Regions from separate parts of the Homo sapiens genome. Here all the other regions are linked to region 1. The links are contacts of gene promoters, found by promoter capture Hi-C in blood cells and fetal thymus (Javierre and others, 2016). All regions are on one chromosome and are shown on one strand. The core of a region is centred on a gene start or on the middle of the fragment in contact, and the rest is flanking DNA. Distances in the headings are between cores, read along the strand shown. Region 1 holds the start of SLC44A1 (solute carrier family 44 member 1). Region 2 overlaps ABCA1 (ATP binding cassette subfamily A member 1). Region 3 overlaps ABCA1 (ATP binding cassette subfamily A member 1). Region 4 overlaps ABCA1 (ATP binding cassette subfamily A member 1).

Evidence for each region. Contacts are between HindIII fragments. The CHiCAGO score rates a contact against its expected background, and 5 or more counts as called.
Region 2: a fragment that was not itself captured here is called in contact with the fragment with the promoter of SLC44A1 in region 1 in 1 of 17 cell types (neutrophils); the score reaches 5.9 in neutrophils.
Region 3: a contact is called between a fragment that was not itself captured here and the fragment with the promoter of SLC44A1 in region 1, in 1 of 17 cell types (monocytes). The highest score is 7.3, in monocytes.
Region 4: a contact is called between a fragment that was not itself captured here and the fragment with the promoter of SLC44A1 in region 1, in 1 of 17 cell types (monocytes). The highest score is 5.3, in monocytes.

The regions. Positions count from the first base shown.
Region 1 is chr9:105,241,963-105,246,003 of GRCh38, reverse strand. It overlaps SLC44A1 (solute carrier family 44 member 1), which reads right to left and starts at 1,353. Exons shown (of 16, transcript NM_080546.5): 1 at 1,100-1,353. The coding sequence starts at 1,135. LOC112268038 (a long non-coding RNA gene) reads left to right here and starts at 411. Exons shown (of 3, transcript XR_002956866.2): 1 at 411-985. RefSeq lists silencers at 411-490, 831-970, 981-1,580 and enhancers at 1-806, 807-1,711. The HindIII fragment of the contact is 7,272 bases long and covers 1-4,041 here.
Region 2 is chr9:104,902,899-104,907,004 of GRCh38, reverse strand. ABCA1 (ATP binding cassette subfamily A member 1) reads left to right here. Exons shown (of 50, transcript NM_005502.4): 2 at 3,234-3,391. The coding sequence starts at 3,326. Among named protein-coding and RNA genes, the nearest start is that of ABCA1, 23 kb to the left of the region's middle. RefSeq lists an enhancer at 2,920-3,832. The HindIII fragment of the contact is 2,929 bases long and covers 470-3,398 here.
Region 3 is chr9:104,870,860-104,875,130 of GRCh38, reverse strand. The region is part of intron 5 of ABCA1 (ATP binding cassette subfamily A member 1); the gene reads left to right. Among named protein-coding and RNA genes, the nearest start is that of ABCA1, 55 kb to the left of the region's middle. The HindIII fragment of the contact is 809 bases long and covers 1,596-2,404 here.
Region 4 is chr9:104,852,847-104,856,711 of GRCh38, reverse strand. All of the region lies in intron 7 of ABCA1 (ATP binding cassette subfamily A member 1), which reads left to right. Among named protein-coding and RNA genes, the nearest start is that of ABCA1, 73 kb to the left of the region's middle. The HindIII fragment of the contact is 9,731 bases long and covers 1-3,865 here.

The DNA of each region.
Region 1 (4,041 bases), core at 104-2,603:
ATTTTTCATACACCACCACAAGACAGTTTGATGCAGTATTCCTGATTGCTTTTTATAGTATTTGTAAATACACTCGCTAATCCACTAAATTAGGTAATTTACAAACAGGTCCTCTCAGTTATTAGTGGCCAGTAGTCGAGTTCTATTACATTTGATCCTCGTACAGTTGTCTAAACATTTCCACCCAGGTTAAGGGCTCGGATCCGAGAGAAGGAGGTTGGCGAAATTTGGATGGGGGCAGGGTAGAAGCTGAGAGAAATCTCTGCATCTCAGCCCTCAGCGACAACATTCAGCCAGTGCCCACAGAAAAACTAAATTCGGAACCTCTTCCTCCTGTTACACTGGCAACAAAGAGGGAGTTTCCGTAGCGCTCCCGTCACCCACCAGGTGCCCAATCTCCTTCCCAGCCCAGAGTCGGCGCTCCCGCAGGGGCCTCCGAGTGCGGGGAGGCCGCGGGGCCCGGGTCACGGCACTAAGGGGGGATGGGGTGCAAGCGAGCAAGCGAGGTCTGCGGAGCGGGCCGTGGAAGGGCTCCGGGACCCGCTGAAACCATCTGAACCCAGCCAGGGGGCAGCGGGCAAGAGAAAAGGGACAGAATATCTAATGAAGCAGAAACTGGAATTCGGTGGGAGAGGTGAAGAGCTCTTGCTGGGGGTACACCTGCGAGGAGCACAGAAAACGGGCGGCGGATGGCGGGGAGACTCCACGGAGGTGGAAGAGAGGAGCCAGGCCCGGAAGAACAGGGAAGGGGATGCCACCTGGGGCAGAGGAGGCGCCAGTGCAGCCTCTACCTGCAGGCGGGCGGGACGGGCAGCTCAGGTGTGACTGGGAGGAGGGGGCCGACTGGGGAAGGGGCCGGGAAGAGCTGAGGGCGCACTAGGCGCCGCGCAGAGGCGCCTTTGAGTCGGCAGCCGCGGAGCCAGCGCACGGGCATCGGCGGGACCCGGCGGACGGAAAGGCGGAGTGGGGGTCTTTGGACTGCACGGTGCGCTCAGGGGAGGCTGGGGACAGCGAGAGGTATCGGGCGGCGGGCGCCCGCCGCGCGACGCGGCGCACGGGAGGCATCCGGGCGGGCGGCCGGGAGGCGGGAGCCCCTCACCTGCGCGGCGGAGGAGGCGGAGCTGCAGCAGCCCATGGCGGGGCCGAAGGAGCCCGGAGGCGGCGCCGGGCGCGCAGCTACGCCCCGGAGCCCCTCGGCATGCGAGCCGGCGGGCGCCCGGGGAGGGCGCGGCCTGGCACCGCACGGCTAGGCGGCGGCGGCGGCTGCAGCGGCGGCTGGTACTCAAGAGGCGGCGCGGCTAGAGGCAGGCGCCGGCCACATCCCCCGGCGGCGGCGACGGCGGCTACGCGTCTCCTGCTCTGCTCCTGCTGCAGCAGCTGCTCCCCAGCGGAAAGGGGCGGGCGGCGGCGGCGGCGGCGCCTCCCTCTGTCCCCCCGCCTCCCGCCTCCCGCGCCCAGTCCCTCTCCCGCTCCCTCTCCCGGGCCGCCGCCTCCTCAGCGCCGCGCGCGTCTCCCATCAGACTCCCCGCCCCCAGTGCAGCGCCGTGCTGGTGGCAGGGCGGCGGCAGCCAGAACAAGGCCGGGCCCTTCCGCGCGTGTCAGAGGCTGCGCGGCGCCGGGCTTATTTAGCTGTGGCACCGAGGCAGCTCTCTGCCTCGAGGCTGGAGGGCAACGCGGTCTGAGGCAGCCAAAGACCGGGCCAACTCGCTGCCAAAAAGGGGCCGGATTGCTTCCGGATCTAGGAGGCAAGCGGGACTTCTCCCTCTCCCTACTGGACGCACAACTCAGGATCCTGATGGCTTCTTACCGCCCCGTCGGCTGTTTTTTTTCTCCAGAGGAAAGCGTACACAAGAAACCTTTCCTGGAGAAGGAATAGGTGATAAGAAGACGGGAAGAAACAAGCATCTGTTGCTACTGTCCCCATTTTGCTGATGTGGAAACTGAGGCTTGAAAGGGACCAAGAACCTAATGAAATGTTCCCAAGGTTGAAATGGTAATAAATAGCCAGAAATGAGGAAAAGGCAAAAAGTTATCCAGGCTCGCAAGTCAAAGCCATACTGGATCTAAGCTAAACTTTCTTATACAGGATAGTCTACAAAAAACAATAAGGGGACATTAATTTATTCATATTAAAAATACTTACTGAAGACACACTACGTTCCAGTGACTAGTACTGGGAATAAAGAGGCGAGCAAAAGAGACTTACCAAGTTCCTGTTGCTAAATCAGTAAGACTCAAGGAAGTAGCAACAAGTTAGAGTAGACGTGGTAACTACCTTCAAGAAATTTACAATTCCAAACGAGTCGTTAGGAAATACAGTATGAGGTGAAAACAGTTAAAAAGTGAAAGAAATAAAACTAAAGATAATGATGTTAAAAAAAACCCCACATTATCAGGCACTGTTATAGCCTTCATATGTCATTTCATCTTGTCAAAGAATGTCTCAAAAGACAGCCACAGGAAAGAAAAGAAAAACTTTATTTGCAAAGCTGCAAGGGAGTGAGACTTCCAAAAGGACTGATTCACCAAATATGAGACATCAAGTTTTAAAGATTAGTTAAAGTATAGAGGGAAGAAAAGAACACAGAATTAAATTGACTTTACATGCACTGAAAGGGAATCTAAGCCAAGGAAAGTTGGAATGGTAGCCTGTAAGGGGACAGCTACAGAAAGGGCCAGGGAAGAAGAATTCCTAATTGATGTTTTCCTATGCCATTTCCTGAGTTCGTGACTGTGGACGAGTTATCTCTCCAAATCTCATTGTCCGCTTCTGTGAAATGCTGGTAGCAGGGATGACTGCAAAGGCTTGTGGTCAAGATTAAATAACATAAGAAAGTGCTGCTAGGTCAGCAAGTACTCAACTGATTGAGATCTTGAATTCTTCTGCATTCTTTCTAGTTTCCTTTCAGGTTAATCAGAGGGTCCACCATACCACGGAGCTGGCGAATCCTACATGTGTTTCCCATAACCATTAAACCAATAAATACAAGTGAAGACATAAAACTAATGGTTCTAGTCCCAATTCTGGTTGTAAACTCCAGAATTAGATTGTAAACTCCCTGAGAACAAGGAAAAGTATTTTCTCCTTTGTATCTCCCTCAGCTCTCTCAAATGTTTGTTGAATTATTCAGTGCAGCCAAGAATAAAAAACATTCCCTTGAGATTTTCCCTCAAAGCCAGAAAAGTACATCTTGTTTTTAACTCGGGGAGGAGGCTGAAAGTAAAACTACAGTCCTAAACAAGAAGCCATCTGTCTTCCTTCTTTATAGTCAAGGAAAGGGGAGTTGTTTCTCTTTGCAGAGTCAATATGGGAGCATTTCTCTCAGATTAGAAAAATCTTTTTGGCTAGTGCTGCCGTTCCGTGTAGTAGCTAGTGCTTATTCTGTAATTGGAACTGTAGAAGGAGATAAATGCGTAACAGACTGTGGCAGTGCTTCATAAAATGTATTTTGCTTTTTTAGAGATCTCTTTCCTAGACATAGATAATGGGTGAATATAATTGAAAGCAACTACAGTCCGTTGTGCTTGACTGATCTGCACTCTGGTTTTCCCTTTAAGTGTTAATAGAACTAAGAGTTCTAAGATTCTGCAAGGTGCTTTGTAAATACACCAATTATGTATGTATGCACCATATATGCATATGAATCTGATGTTTCAAAATTATACTTCGTCATTAGCATGAGGGAAACTAACAGCTCTTGCATTGATATGCTGTACCTTCTAAGAATGAGTCTCTTTCCCATCCCCCTCATGCCCAAAAAAAGCCTCGTAAAAGGAGTGATTTAGAGAGGGGCAAATTACTATTCCTTTTCACTCTTATAAACAAGTACACACAGCATTCAATGAAATTAAACCACAGCAAACTCAGAAATCACAAAAGGGATTTTTTTTTTCTTAAGCCAGTGATCAGGGTACTTATCTACTATGGTGAGATGTTACCAGGGCAAGCCCCTTCGTAGGGGCTTAGGTTGTTTTTCTTTTTCTTTTGGGAGAAAGGAGGTTTTTAGAAACTTATGTAAAAACCATCTGCGCTAACCAGGA
Region 2 (4,106 bases), core at 685-3,184, 340 kb after region 1:
TTCAGATATTTGGTCTAGCTGAGTAACTTTGGGTGCTCTGTGACAAATGGTTGGGAGACCAGTGAGGTGGCAGTTGCGGTCATCTAGGAGCAGGATCAGAGTGGCCTATTGACTGGGATGACTGTGAAGTGGGATCCTTTCCAGCCAGTAACTGGAAATGTGTATGAGGGCAGAAGTGAGTGTACTGCATTTGAAACATTGAGAAATCTAGTACATAGTACTGTCTCTTTTATATCTTTTTTTTTTTTTTTTTTGATTTTGGTTTGTTTGTTCACTAACTTGGAAAACTGATGTGGAAATGTCCCTTTGGCTTCAGTTACCTGAGCAGAAGGGGCCGGGCATTGCCAAACTCTCCTCTTAGGACAGAATTGCTCCCAGTATTGATCATTGTGTTCTGAGTTGGGGGAGCAAATTGTGCAGGAGGCCAGGTCAGTGCCAAGGTGGGTGGGAGGAATTGGAGCAGGAAGCTTGCCTAAGTGTGCCCAGCAAAGCCACGGTAGAACTTTCTACTGTGGCTCTATGCTACTTCTTAGCAACCTTCTCCATGTGCTTCCTGGAGAGTCCTTGGAGTCAGAACCTTTTTCTTGAAACCCAGACACTTTACTTCCAAGAAAATGCTGTCCAAGAAAACTCATCCTTCCCTTCTTCTCATGAACGTTGTGTAGAGGTGTGTCTTCTCTTCCTTTGAGCTTTTCCACTCAGGGTTTAGGGGAGGTGATATTCTATATTTGGGTTTGGCTCTGGGTACTGCAACACTAGGCTATTAAGATTTCATCCTTACTGCTTTGCCCCTCCTATCTTTCCAGAAACCCACAATGGATTTGCTAGAAATAATGGAACGTCCTGTTTGGACAGGATATAACCATTTCTCAGCTAGAGGATATTGTTGGAATGAAGAAAGATAAATGGGGAGAAGGGAACTCACATTGCTTTGGCACTTAAATTAAGCCATGTACTGTGTTGGGAAATTATTTATATTATCTCGTTGAATCCACAGTAGAACACAGTTGAACACCATACAAGGTAAGTATTGTCATCCTTATTTTACCATGAGGAAATTGATGCTTAGAGAGCATAAAGCCTTGGCCAGGGGCACATAGTTGGGAAGCCGGGGCTAATTCATGCCTGGGCTCTTTCTGATAGTTTTCCTTTTTTAATTGTCCCCTCCTCATTGTTACCTTGGGGATTTCAAGAGATTCATGTAGCTTCTAAATCAACGAACTGATTCCTGGAGAGCAGCTTCTGTATGAGAAAAATCTAGCTAATTATTTATTTCAGTGTCTCTGGAATGCAAGCTCTGTCCTGAGCCACTTAGAAAACAATTTGGGATGACAAGCATGTGTCTCACAATGCTGCTCTGGTTGCCAGTGCTGTGCTGCCAGTTGTCATCTTTGAACAAACTGATGCAGTGCTGGTTTAACTCTTCCTCTTTTTGGAGTAAGAAACTTTGGAGGCCTGTGTCCTTCTAGAAGTTTGCTGAGCAAATGGTAAGGAAAAGAAATAGGTCCTAAGGCTTGACTATTTCAGAGAATTTCTTGATTTATTGGACTGTCAATGAATGAATTGGAATACATAGTGGTAGGCTGTCTTTTCTTCTCAGACACTGCAATTTCCTCCAATCTCTTGACTTTTCTAGAAGTTTTAATCCAAGTCCTTGTTGGGTGGTAGATAAAAGGGTATTGTTCTACTAGAGACTGACCTTGGCATGGAGATCTCATTTGGACTCACAGATTTCTAGTCTAGCGCTTGGTTTTGTATCCATACCTCGCTACTGCATTCTTAGTTCCTTCTGCTCCTTGTTCCTCATGCCCAGTGTCCCACCCTACCCTTGCCCCTACTCCTCTAGAGGCCACAGTGATTCACTGAGCCATTTCATAAGCACAGCTAGGAGAGTTCATGGCTACCAAGTGCCAGCAGGGCCGAATTTTCACCTGTGTGTCCTCCCTTCCATTTTTCATCTTCTGCCCCCTCCCCAGCTTTAACTTTAATATAACTACTTGGGACTATTCCAGCATTAAATAAGGGTAACTGCTGGATGGGTGGCTGGGATACACAGAATGTAGTATCCCTTGTTCACGAGAAGACCTTCTTGCCCTAGCATGGCAAACAGTCCTCCAAGGAGGCACCTGTGACACCCAACGGAGTAGGGGGGCGGTGTGTTCAGGTGCAGGTGGAACAAGGCCAGAAGTGTGCATATGTGCTGACCATGGGAGCTTGTTTGTCGGTTTCACAGTTGATGCCCTGAGCCTGCCATAGCAGACTTGTTTCTCCATGGGATGCTGTTTTCTTTCCAGAGACACAGCGCTAGGGTTGTCCTCATTACCTGAGAGCCAGGTGTCGGTAGCATTTTCTTGGTGTTTACTCACACTCATCTAAGGCACGTTGTGGTTTTCCAGATTAGGAAACTGCTTTATTGATGGTGCTTTTTTTTTTTTTTTTTGAGACAGAGTCTCGCTCTGTCGCCATGCTGGAGTGTAGTGGCACAATCTTGGCTCACTGCACCTCCGCCTGCCAGGTTCAGCGATTCTCCTGCCTCAGCCTCCCAAGTAGCTGGGACTACAGGTGCCTGCCACCATGCCCAGCTAATTTTTGTATTTTTAGTAGAGACGGGGTTTCACCGTATTGGCTAGGATGGTCTCGATTTCTTGACCTCGTGATCCGCCTGCCTCGGCCTCCCAAAGTGCTGGGATTATAGGCTTGAGCCACCACGCCTGGCCGATGGTGCTTTTTATCATTTGAAGGACTCAGTTGTATAACCCACTGAAAATTAGTATGTAAGGAAGTTCAGGGAATAGTATAAGTCACTCCAGGCTTGAGGCAAAATTTACAAATGCTGCTGACTTTGTATGTAAGGGGAGGCATTTTCTTAGAAAAGAGAGGTAGGTCTCTGGGATTCCAGTATGCCATTTCCATCCTCAGTGTTTTTGGCCACCTGAGAGAGGTCTATTTTCAGAAATGCATTCTTCATTCCCAGATGATAACATCTATAGAACTAAAATGATTAGGACCATAACACGTAGCTCCTAGCCTGCTGTCGGAACACCTCCCGAGTCCCTCTTTGTGGGTGAACCCAGAGGCTGGGAGCTGGTGACTCATGATCCATTGAGAAGCAGTCATGATGCAGAGCTGTGTGTTGGAGGTCTCAGCTGAGAGGGCTGGATTAGCAGTCCTCATTGGTGTATGGCTTTGCAGCAATAACTGATGGCTGTTTCCCCTCCTGCTTTATCTTTCAGTTAATGACCAGCCACGGCGTCCCTGCTGTGAGCTCTGGCCGCTGCCTTCCAGGGCTCCCGAGCCACACGCTGGGGGTGCTGGCTGAGGGAACATGGCTTGTTGGCCTCAGCTGAGGTTGCTGCTGTGGAAGAACCTCACTTTCAGAAGAAGACAAACAGTAAGCTTGGGTTTTTCAGCAGCGGGGGGTTCTCTCATTTTTTCTTTGTGGTTTTGAGTTGGGGATTGGAGGAGGGAGGGAGGGAAGGAAGCTGTGTTGGTTTTCACACAGGGATTGATGGAATCTGGCTCTTATGGACACAGGACTGTGTGGTCCGGATATGGCATGTGGCTTATCATAGAGGGCAGATTTGCAGCCAGGTAGAAATAGTAGCTTTGGTTTGTGCTACTGCCCAGGCATGAGTTCTGATCCCTAGGACCTGGCTCCGAATCGCCCCTGAGCACCCCACTTTTTCCTTTTGCTGCAGCCCTGGGAGCCACCTGGCTCTCCAAAAGCCCCTAATGGGCCCCTGTATTTCTGGAAGCTGTGGGTGAAGTGAGTTAGTGGCCCCACTCTTAGAGATCAATACTGGGTATCTTGGTGTCAATCTGGATTCTTTCCTTCAGGCCTGGAGGAATATAATAACTGAGACTTGTTTTATTTCTGCAGAGGGTTCTAAGCCATTCACTTCCCAGATGGGCCAATAATGCTTTGAGTAATCTGGAGATCATCTTTAATGCGCAGGTGAATGGAACTCTTCCACAGAGGGATGTGAGGGCTGTAGAGCAGAGTGAACTCCCTGAAACTCAGACGTCAGCTCTTTGTCTCTCTATCTCTGAACACCCTTCCTTAGAGATCCCATCTCTAGGATGCATTTCTCTGTAGTTAGTTTCTA
Region 3 (4,271 bases), core at 751-3,250, 370 kb after region 1:
AATGGAATCTCCTATGTCTACTTCTTTCTACACAGACACAGCAACAATCTGATTTCTCTATCTTTTCCCCACATTTCCCCCTTTTCTATTCGACAAAACTGCCATTGTCATCATGGCCCATTCTCAATGAGCTGCTGGGTACACCTCCCAGATGGGGCGGCGGCCGGGTAGAGGGGCTCCTCACTTCCCAGAAGGGGCGGCCGGGCAGAGGCGCCCCCCACCTCCCGGACGGGGCGGCTGGCCGGGCGGGGGCTGCCCCCCACCTCCCTCCCGGACGGGGTGGCTGGCCGGGCGGGGGCTGGCCCCCACCTCCCTCCCGGACGGGGCGGCTGGCCGGGCGGGGGCTGCCCCCCACCTCCCTCCCGGACGGGGCGGCTGGCTGCCCTGCTAATTTTTGTATTTTCAGTAGAGATGGGGTTTTACCATGTTGGTCAGGCTGGTCTCGAACTCCTGACCTGTTGATCCACCTGCCTCAGCCTCCCAAAGTGTTGAGATTACAGGCATGAGCCACTGCGCCCGGCTCTGTTTTTTTGTTTGTTTGTTTGTTTTTGTTTTTGTTTTGAGACGGAGTCTTACTCTGTTGCCCAGGCTGGAGTGAGTGGAGCGGCACGATCTTGGTTCACTGCAACCTCTGCCTCCCGGGTTCAAACAATTCTTCCTGCCTCAGCCTCCCGAATAGCTGGGATTACAGGCACTTACCACCAGGCCTGGCTAATTTTTGTATTTTTTAGTAGAGACGGGGTTTTGCCATGTTGGCCATTTGAACTCCTGACCATCTTTGAACTCCTGACCATGTTTGCCATGTTGAACTCTTGACTTCAGGTGCGTTGGCCTCCCAAAGTGCTGGGATTACAGGTGTGAGCCACCATGCCCAGCCTGTTTGGCCTTTCTGATATGGCTCTGACTAATCTTTTTGGAAATTAGTCCCCAGGGTTATACTGGATTTTACTTAGGGAAAAGGGTCATGCCTCTCTGGCTGTCAGATTTACTGATAGTACTAAGGACTCAGTGGGGTGGACCTTTGATTCTGGTTTGATTTTTGAAAATCAAAAAGACGTGAGCTCCAGGGAGCAGGGTGGCTTTGGTGACATGGCAAGATAGTTGGCTGTGGCAGGGAGTTGAGGGAAGTGGGTAGAAAATTAACATCTTGTAAATATTCCCTGGGAAATATACCTTCGTGTTAAGAGAACAGACTTGGCAGCCAGATGGCCTAGGTTCAAATCTTGGCTTGATGCTTATCAGCTGTGTAACCTTGGATAATTCCATACATCTCTGTGCCTCAGTTTCCTCAAATGGAATAACAATAGTACCTCCCTCAGGACTATTGTGGCAAATTAATGGACGAATAAGGGGAAGCACTTAGTACAGTGCCTGGCCCAGCATAGGTACCAGGCTTGTTCTTAAGCTCACTGCATTTTTACAATCATCATAAAATGCAGGGGATACACACATGAAGGAGCCGAAGTTCAGAGAGGCCAAGTAACTTGCCTAAGAAAGCACAGCTGGCAAGGGGCAGTAATAGGACCAGAATTCCAGTTTCTCGTGCTCTGTTGTTGTTATATCCTAAAGAGAGCAGCTCTGAGTAGCCAGAAGCTTCCCTAAAGTCACAGGACATGGGGCATGGGCTGGCTGGGATGAGAAAGGAGACAAGAGGGCTTCTGAAAGAAATGCCAGATTCACTCCACTTCCTGGCTTCAGGCACCGATGGAATGTTTCCCAAGGCCCATCTAGAAAGAACATCCTGTGACTCACAGCCACTTCTCATTTTCTGTCTGAACCCCCTCACCCATTCAGGCAGCTGCTAAAGTTGAGGTTACAGCCTCAGACTATATTTTCTGTCCTTGTGGAACCCCAGTGTGTCATCTTGTTGGGAGATCTGGTGATACATGTGTCAACATTATGTCATCAAAATGGAAATTCTTTGAAATCTTTAGGTGATTGCAATTCACGTTCTGTATGTATGCACTTGTCAAAAGTTTTGATTTGAGGCCTTAGAATTTTATATTTGGAAACCTTTCCACTACCATGAGTTTTCCCAGACCTGTCAAAGCCAGGCTGCATCTCAGAAACCAGGTCTTTGATTTCCATCCAGGGCAAGGGCCTGGGCCCAGCTGGGCTGTAAGCAGGTGGGGGTGGGGAGCAACGCTGCACTGCAATGTTGAAATATTACTTGAACTAAATCAAATCAAAGATCAGCTTTACTCAGACAAGAATAGAAAACACAATTGCATTCGATTACAGAATAGTGTGTATCCCCACAAATATCAGACTGCCTTTAAAAAGTTTTGAATTGTTAACATCAAGAACAGTGTTGCGTGTCTCCTGCTTTTCCAGCATAAGGTTTATTTATTCTGTGGGTGGCAAAGAGCAATTTGGGAGTCCAGTTTGTTTCTCATTGAAAGCTTTCCCATTTCTGGTCCTCTTGTCACTGTTGCATTGAGGCACCAAAAGGCAATCTCAGTGCGACACTATTCAACAGACTAAGTTGCACCGGATAATGATACCATTTTACATTTTTCATATATTATTACATTGAAGGCTTCAAACAGCACTAGCAGGGGCAAATTGGTATTATTATCTCCATTTCATTGATGAGGAAACCGAGGCTCGAAAGGGTAATGTCTGTTGTCCAAGATTAAAGAGTAAAGTTGTACGTTGAATCGGGGTCTGACTCCTAGGCTTAGCATTTTCTCCCCACACTATGCTGCCATGTTGCTTATTCCAACATTAGGAAGCATAGGTGCCATCCCCAGCTTTTGAGGCCAATATCACGATGAAGCATTTTTAAAACATCTCATTAAATTGCTGATATAGTGGAAAGAACCAAAGCTTTGCAGTCAAAGCTGTTTGGGTTCAAATTTACCACTTGTTTGTTCTATGACCCTGAGCAAGATATTCTCCAGATCTGTTTCCTCATTTGAAAAATGGGAATAATAATACGTTTCTTTATAGGCTGTTCTTAAAGATTCTGGAAAATAATGCTAATAGTGTGCCTAATGCTTGGTAAATATGAGTCACTTTTCTGTGCCCACAAAGCACTACTATGTCCCTTAATAAATTTTGTTAATTTTAAAAGTTAGAAAAAAATTAAACTATTTATACATTGTGTATGTTAATTCTTCCCTAGACCAGCCTTAGGAAGAATCTCATCCCCAACTTGTAAACTCATCTTTTTCCGTTCTTTTTGTGCCTGGACTTCTCAGGGCCCTGCAGGCTGATTCTAGTCCCATGTTGTGTGGTGTTTGAAGTGTCTGGTCCCTTTTTTCAGTGAGAGACCAGCTCATCCTTGGGAACTGAATGCCTCAAACTCTCTTTTCTTTTTCTCTCTTCCCCTTCTGTTTGATGTAGTCTTTCCTGTTTCTGGACTCTGTTTCTTCATACTTCCTATCTCTTACCTTCTTTTCACTCCTTTTGTCTTCCAGCTGTCCTCTCTCATTTTTCTGCCTCTCTGGTCTTCAGGTAGAGTTTTCATCTCAGCTATCTTCTTGCTTTTTCTGATGTTGGTTCTTTGTTTCTTCTTCTCATTCTGTTCAGGTCCAAAATTCATTTGGGTCAATGTTATGTCTTAGTGTTATCTTCCATTTCCTTCTGAGCTTCAAAGCCAGGCTGACTGTGCCCTTCCACGCCCTGGCCAGTGTGACCAGGACATCCTTTCCCTCTGGGGCTGCACTGGCTCTTTGGGGGAATTGTTACCATTCAGGGTCTTCAACCCTCATTCTAGGGACTTCCAGTAACTTCTCCCACCTTCCCTCTTCTCAGTAAGACATGGGTATTGTCTTATTCTGTTTCTGCTGCTAGAAGAAAATTCTCGAGACTGAGTAATTTATACACAATAGAAATTTACTTCTCACAGTTCTGGAGGCTGGGAAATCCAAAATCAAGGTGTTGGCAGGTTTGGTGTCTGGTGAGGGCTGCTCTCTGCTTCTAAGATGGTGCCTTGTTGCTGCATCCTTAGGAGGGGACAAACGCCATTTCCTCAACTGGCAGAAGGGACTGAAGCCTCTCCCTCAAGCCCTTTTATAGGGGTCCTCATTGTCAGGCCTCTAAGCCCAAGCCAAGCCATCGCATCCCCTGTGACTTGCACATATACGCCCAGATGGCCTGAAGTAACTGAAGAATCACAAAAGAAGTGAAAAGGCCCTGCCTCGCCTTAACTGATGACGTTCCACCATTGTGATTTGTTCCTGCCCCACCTTAACTGAGTGATTAACCCTGTGAATTTCCTTCTCCTGGCTCAGAAGCTCCCCCACTGAGCACCTTGTGACCCCCTG
Region 4 (3,865 bases), core at 931-3,430, 390 kb after region 1:
CATTCATTCCATTTCACTTCTGTTTACTCATTAAACACCTATTGTGTACACAACCCGGTAAAATCCCTCCACTCACACAATGCCTGAATTATACTCATAGTAGAATGACTGTTTAGCCCTCATCATCTGATAATTAACAGCTCAGGTTTCAACCTGACAGTATCTCTCTGGGAGGATTAGCAGCGTGACAGAGTGCAGGGAAATGCACCTTCAGAACCGTCAGCTACACTGTGTCCCATCCTGCTGTGTTGTGGTTGTGCCTTGTGGATGCGTTGGTTTATGACCAGGTATTGATTAAGGTGGCTACTACCAGGTGCTTTCTGCATATCTCGGGTTTGTGGAGCACTCAGGTTCTGCTTCTGCCCCTCTGCTGTTACCAAGAGACCTCTCTTCAAAATGGGGCTCTTGAGTTAGAGTAGAATGAGTGATCAGGATTGTTTTGTGTAAAGATGATTTCTGAGGAAGGCTTTAGGATGAAATGACTTCCAAACATTTTGAAATGTGACTCTTACTTATTGAATTAAGCAGGGCCTTAATTGGAATGCTGGGACTGATACTTGATTTGCATTAAGCAGCCTTTTTCTATTGCTGCTTGGTTGAAATTTCAACATTTGTGATGGTAGATGGATGTGACATGTGATGACATTGCACATGGGCAGTTAACTGTGCCAAGAAGTGCAGCAGTAGCAGCAACCGGAGATGCAAAGCCCAACATGATGGGGAGAGAAACTCTTCTTTCAATATGTGCTTCTGTACCAAAAGTGGAATTTCACGAGAGACATATTTTGAAACATTTCTCCTTTTGTGTGTGCGTGAGTGTTTCCCTGTTTCCAGCCAAGGGTATTGTGAGTTTCTCCTGGGCCTCCTTCAGAATCTGGGTGCTCTGGAAAGCAGTGTTTTGGCAACATGGGGAAAGTATGGCAGTGTGGGAGGGTCAGCTGGGTCTGGGTTTGAATATTGCATTTGAATATTTTACCAGCATTGATGTCGGATAAATTATTTAGTCCCTGTAAGCCTCAGTTTTCTCTTCTTCTACATACACATAATATATTTGACTCTTTGTTGTGATTATTGGTTACACATATGAAGAGCCTGGTGTGGGGCCTGGCACACAATAGGTGCTCAATAAATAGAAGTTGATAATTTAATTGACATGAGTAGTAGAAATTATGTCCTTGAAAACAATTGCGTCAAGATAGAAGTTTTCAGCCAGGCACAGTGGCTCACATCTGTTGTAATCCCAGCATATTGTGGGGGCCGAGGCGGATGAATCACTTGAGGCCAGGAGTTCAAGACCAGCCTGGCCAACGTGGTGAAATCCCCTCTCTACTAAAAATACACATATTTGCCAGGCAGGCGTGGTGGCGCACACCTGTAATCCCAGCTACTGAAGAGGCTGAGGCACAAGAATCGCTTGAACCCAGGAGGTGGAAGTTGCAGTGAGCTGAGATCACTCCACTGCATTCCAGCCAGCGTGACAGAGTGAGACTCTGTCTCAGAAAAAGAAAAAAAAGATAGAAGTTTTCTTCTGTAGATCAGTGTTAGAACTCATACCAAGCGAAGTGGTCCTGGTGAGTATTTCAGTGAAAAACTGCATTCTTGCTCAGATATTGTCAAGACTTTTCACCCAAAGATTCTTATTTATGTCTCAGTCCGTACCTTGTGTGAAAATTAATACTGGATGTCAGAACGCTGTTGTGTTTTTAAAGTTCCCTGGGGTTAAGAGCAGTTTCCATTAGGTGTTCTCTGCTTTTTACTTAAAAATCTTACTCATGCATTGAGCAATATTTATTCAGTTCTTATTATGTGTCAGGTATTTTCTAGGAGCTGGACTCAACTCAAAAGATATCCTTTTGATGAGAACAAAGGTGGGTGGATATATGAAATATTATCTGTGGGATAAATGCACTTAGTCATGAGGGAGACTTGTTATGGAGTGCGCTCATTGTATTTGTACTGTTGAGTTAACAACTTCTAGGAGGAGCTCAGGGCCACCTGGCAGGGGCTTCTTTTGTCTTGCTGCTCAGCAAGGTGTATTTTGCTGTAGAGTGTGCTGGGCAGGTGAACTTTTCTTAACTTTCTCTTGGGTCCTTCCTAAAGCAGCATGTACCTTTCCCAGAGCGAGGAGAGGGCCACCTTCCTGTCTCACAGAAACCTCCAATCTGTTTTGGACTGCAGGAAGGAGCCATAGTAGTGGACCAGCAAATTTTGGCCCGAGAGATTGATTTGCTTCCGATTGTACTTTTTTTTTTTATTGCTACTATAACAAGTCACCAAATACTTAGCAGTTTATAACCACATACATTTATTATTTCATAAGGCCAGAAGCCAGGATACAGTAGAGCTCACCTAGGTCTACTTCTTAGAGGCTCACAGGGCTGATATCAAGGTGTTTGTGGGGCTGTGTTTTTTTGGGGGGGCTCTGAAGATGAATCTGCTTTGGAGCTCATCCAGGATATCAGATGAATTCAGTCCCGTGCAGTTGTAGGACTGAAGTCCATTTCCTTGCTGGCTGTCAGCAGGGGCTGGTTTTTGCTCCTAAAGGTTGCCATCATTCCTTCTTATGCTTTTCATGTGACTCCTCTCCCACAAGTGGGTTGAGTATCTCTCACACTTTAAACCTCTGACGCCTCCTGTCACATCTGTCTCCAGTCAGAGAAAGTTCTTTACTTTTAAGGGCTCAGGTGTTTAGTTTGGGCCCATTCACATAATCCAGGATAATCTCCTTATTTTGAGGTTCATAACTTTAATTACATCTACACAGTGCATTTGCTATGAAATGTGCATATTCACAGACTCCAGGAATAGGGTGTGGACATCTTTGCAGGGGATATTCAGTCTGCTGTAGCTTTCTTGATTGGAAGGAATAGTTTATCATATATTTGAAGTGTTCCCTCAGTGCCTTTGGCTTTTGTTGACCCCTCTGCAGCTCTCTGCTTTTTCTTGCCCATATTTGGAAAGTGACTCTAAAGCATAATAAGCATCACCTATTAGGGTTTTTAATGTACAAACCAAACAGAGGTGACTTTGGGAGGAGAACATCTCTGAACTAGGTATGAGACATTCATCGAAAAAAATCCATCAAGTGTTTATTGTATGTCTGCTTTATACCAGCACTGTTCTAGGCACTGAAGTTCGACCACCAACAAGGCAGTTGTGATGCACTTGGAGCTTTCATTCTGATGGGCATTGAGATCCAGGCTGAAGGCTGAGTCTGGGAATTTGAGGAATTCTTTGTAGGTCCTGGGTCTACAGAGTGAGAGCTGTCCTCGTTCCAGTTTCACTGATGACCTCTCGACCAGCTCCCTCACAGCAGTCTTTGCCAACACAGACACTGTGGGCTGTAGTGGGAGGAATGTGGGGTTGAATGAGCTAGGTTTGGGCTCTGTCCTTGACTCACCATTGCCTCAGTGATGTGAAAATGGTGTCTGATCCTTAAGGTTGGAAGTCCAGGCATGCAGATTTATCTCCATCTCAATAACGTGGGGAAAAAAAAGAAGTGGTTTTTGTGGAACCAGTGGTTCCACTGTCCACGTGTCTTCCAGTGTGCCTAGCACATTCCCACCAAGTGGATCTTGGTTCATGAGGGAAAGAAGGGAAAGTGAGGGTGCCCCGAGGCTCCCAGAAGACAAGTAATGTCACAGCTGAGCTGTGTACAGATCGAAGAAGCAGATGGATAAGGAGTGAACAAAGTCATCCTTGTCTTGAGGGGTCTTTATTTAGCTTCTTCTTGACTCTTAGACAAGGACCCAGAATACAGATGGGGCTTGTTGTTACCTTCAGCCTCATGGCTTTTTAGGGCTAGATACTTCAGCTTGTTACATGCAGTCCTTAAAGCGTCTGTGTGGGTTTTTGCAGGAGAGAA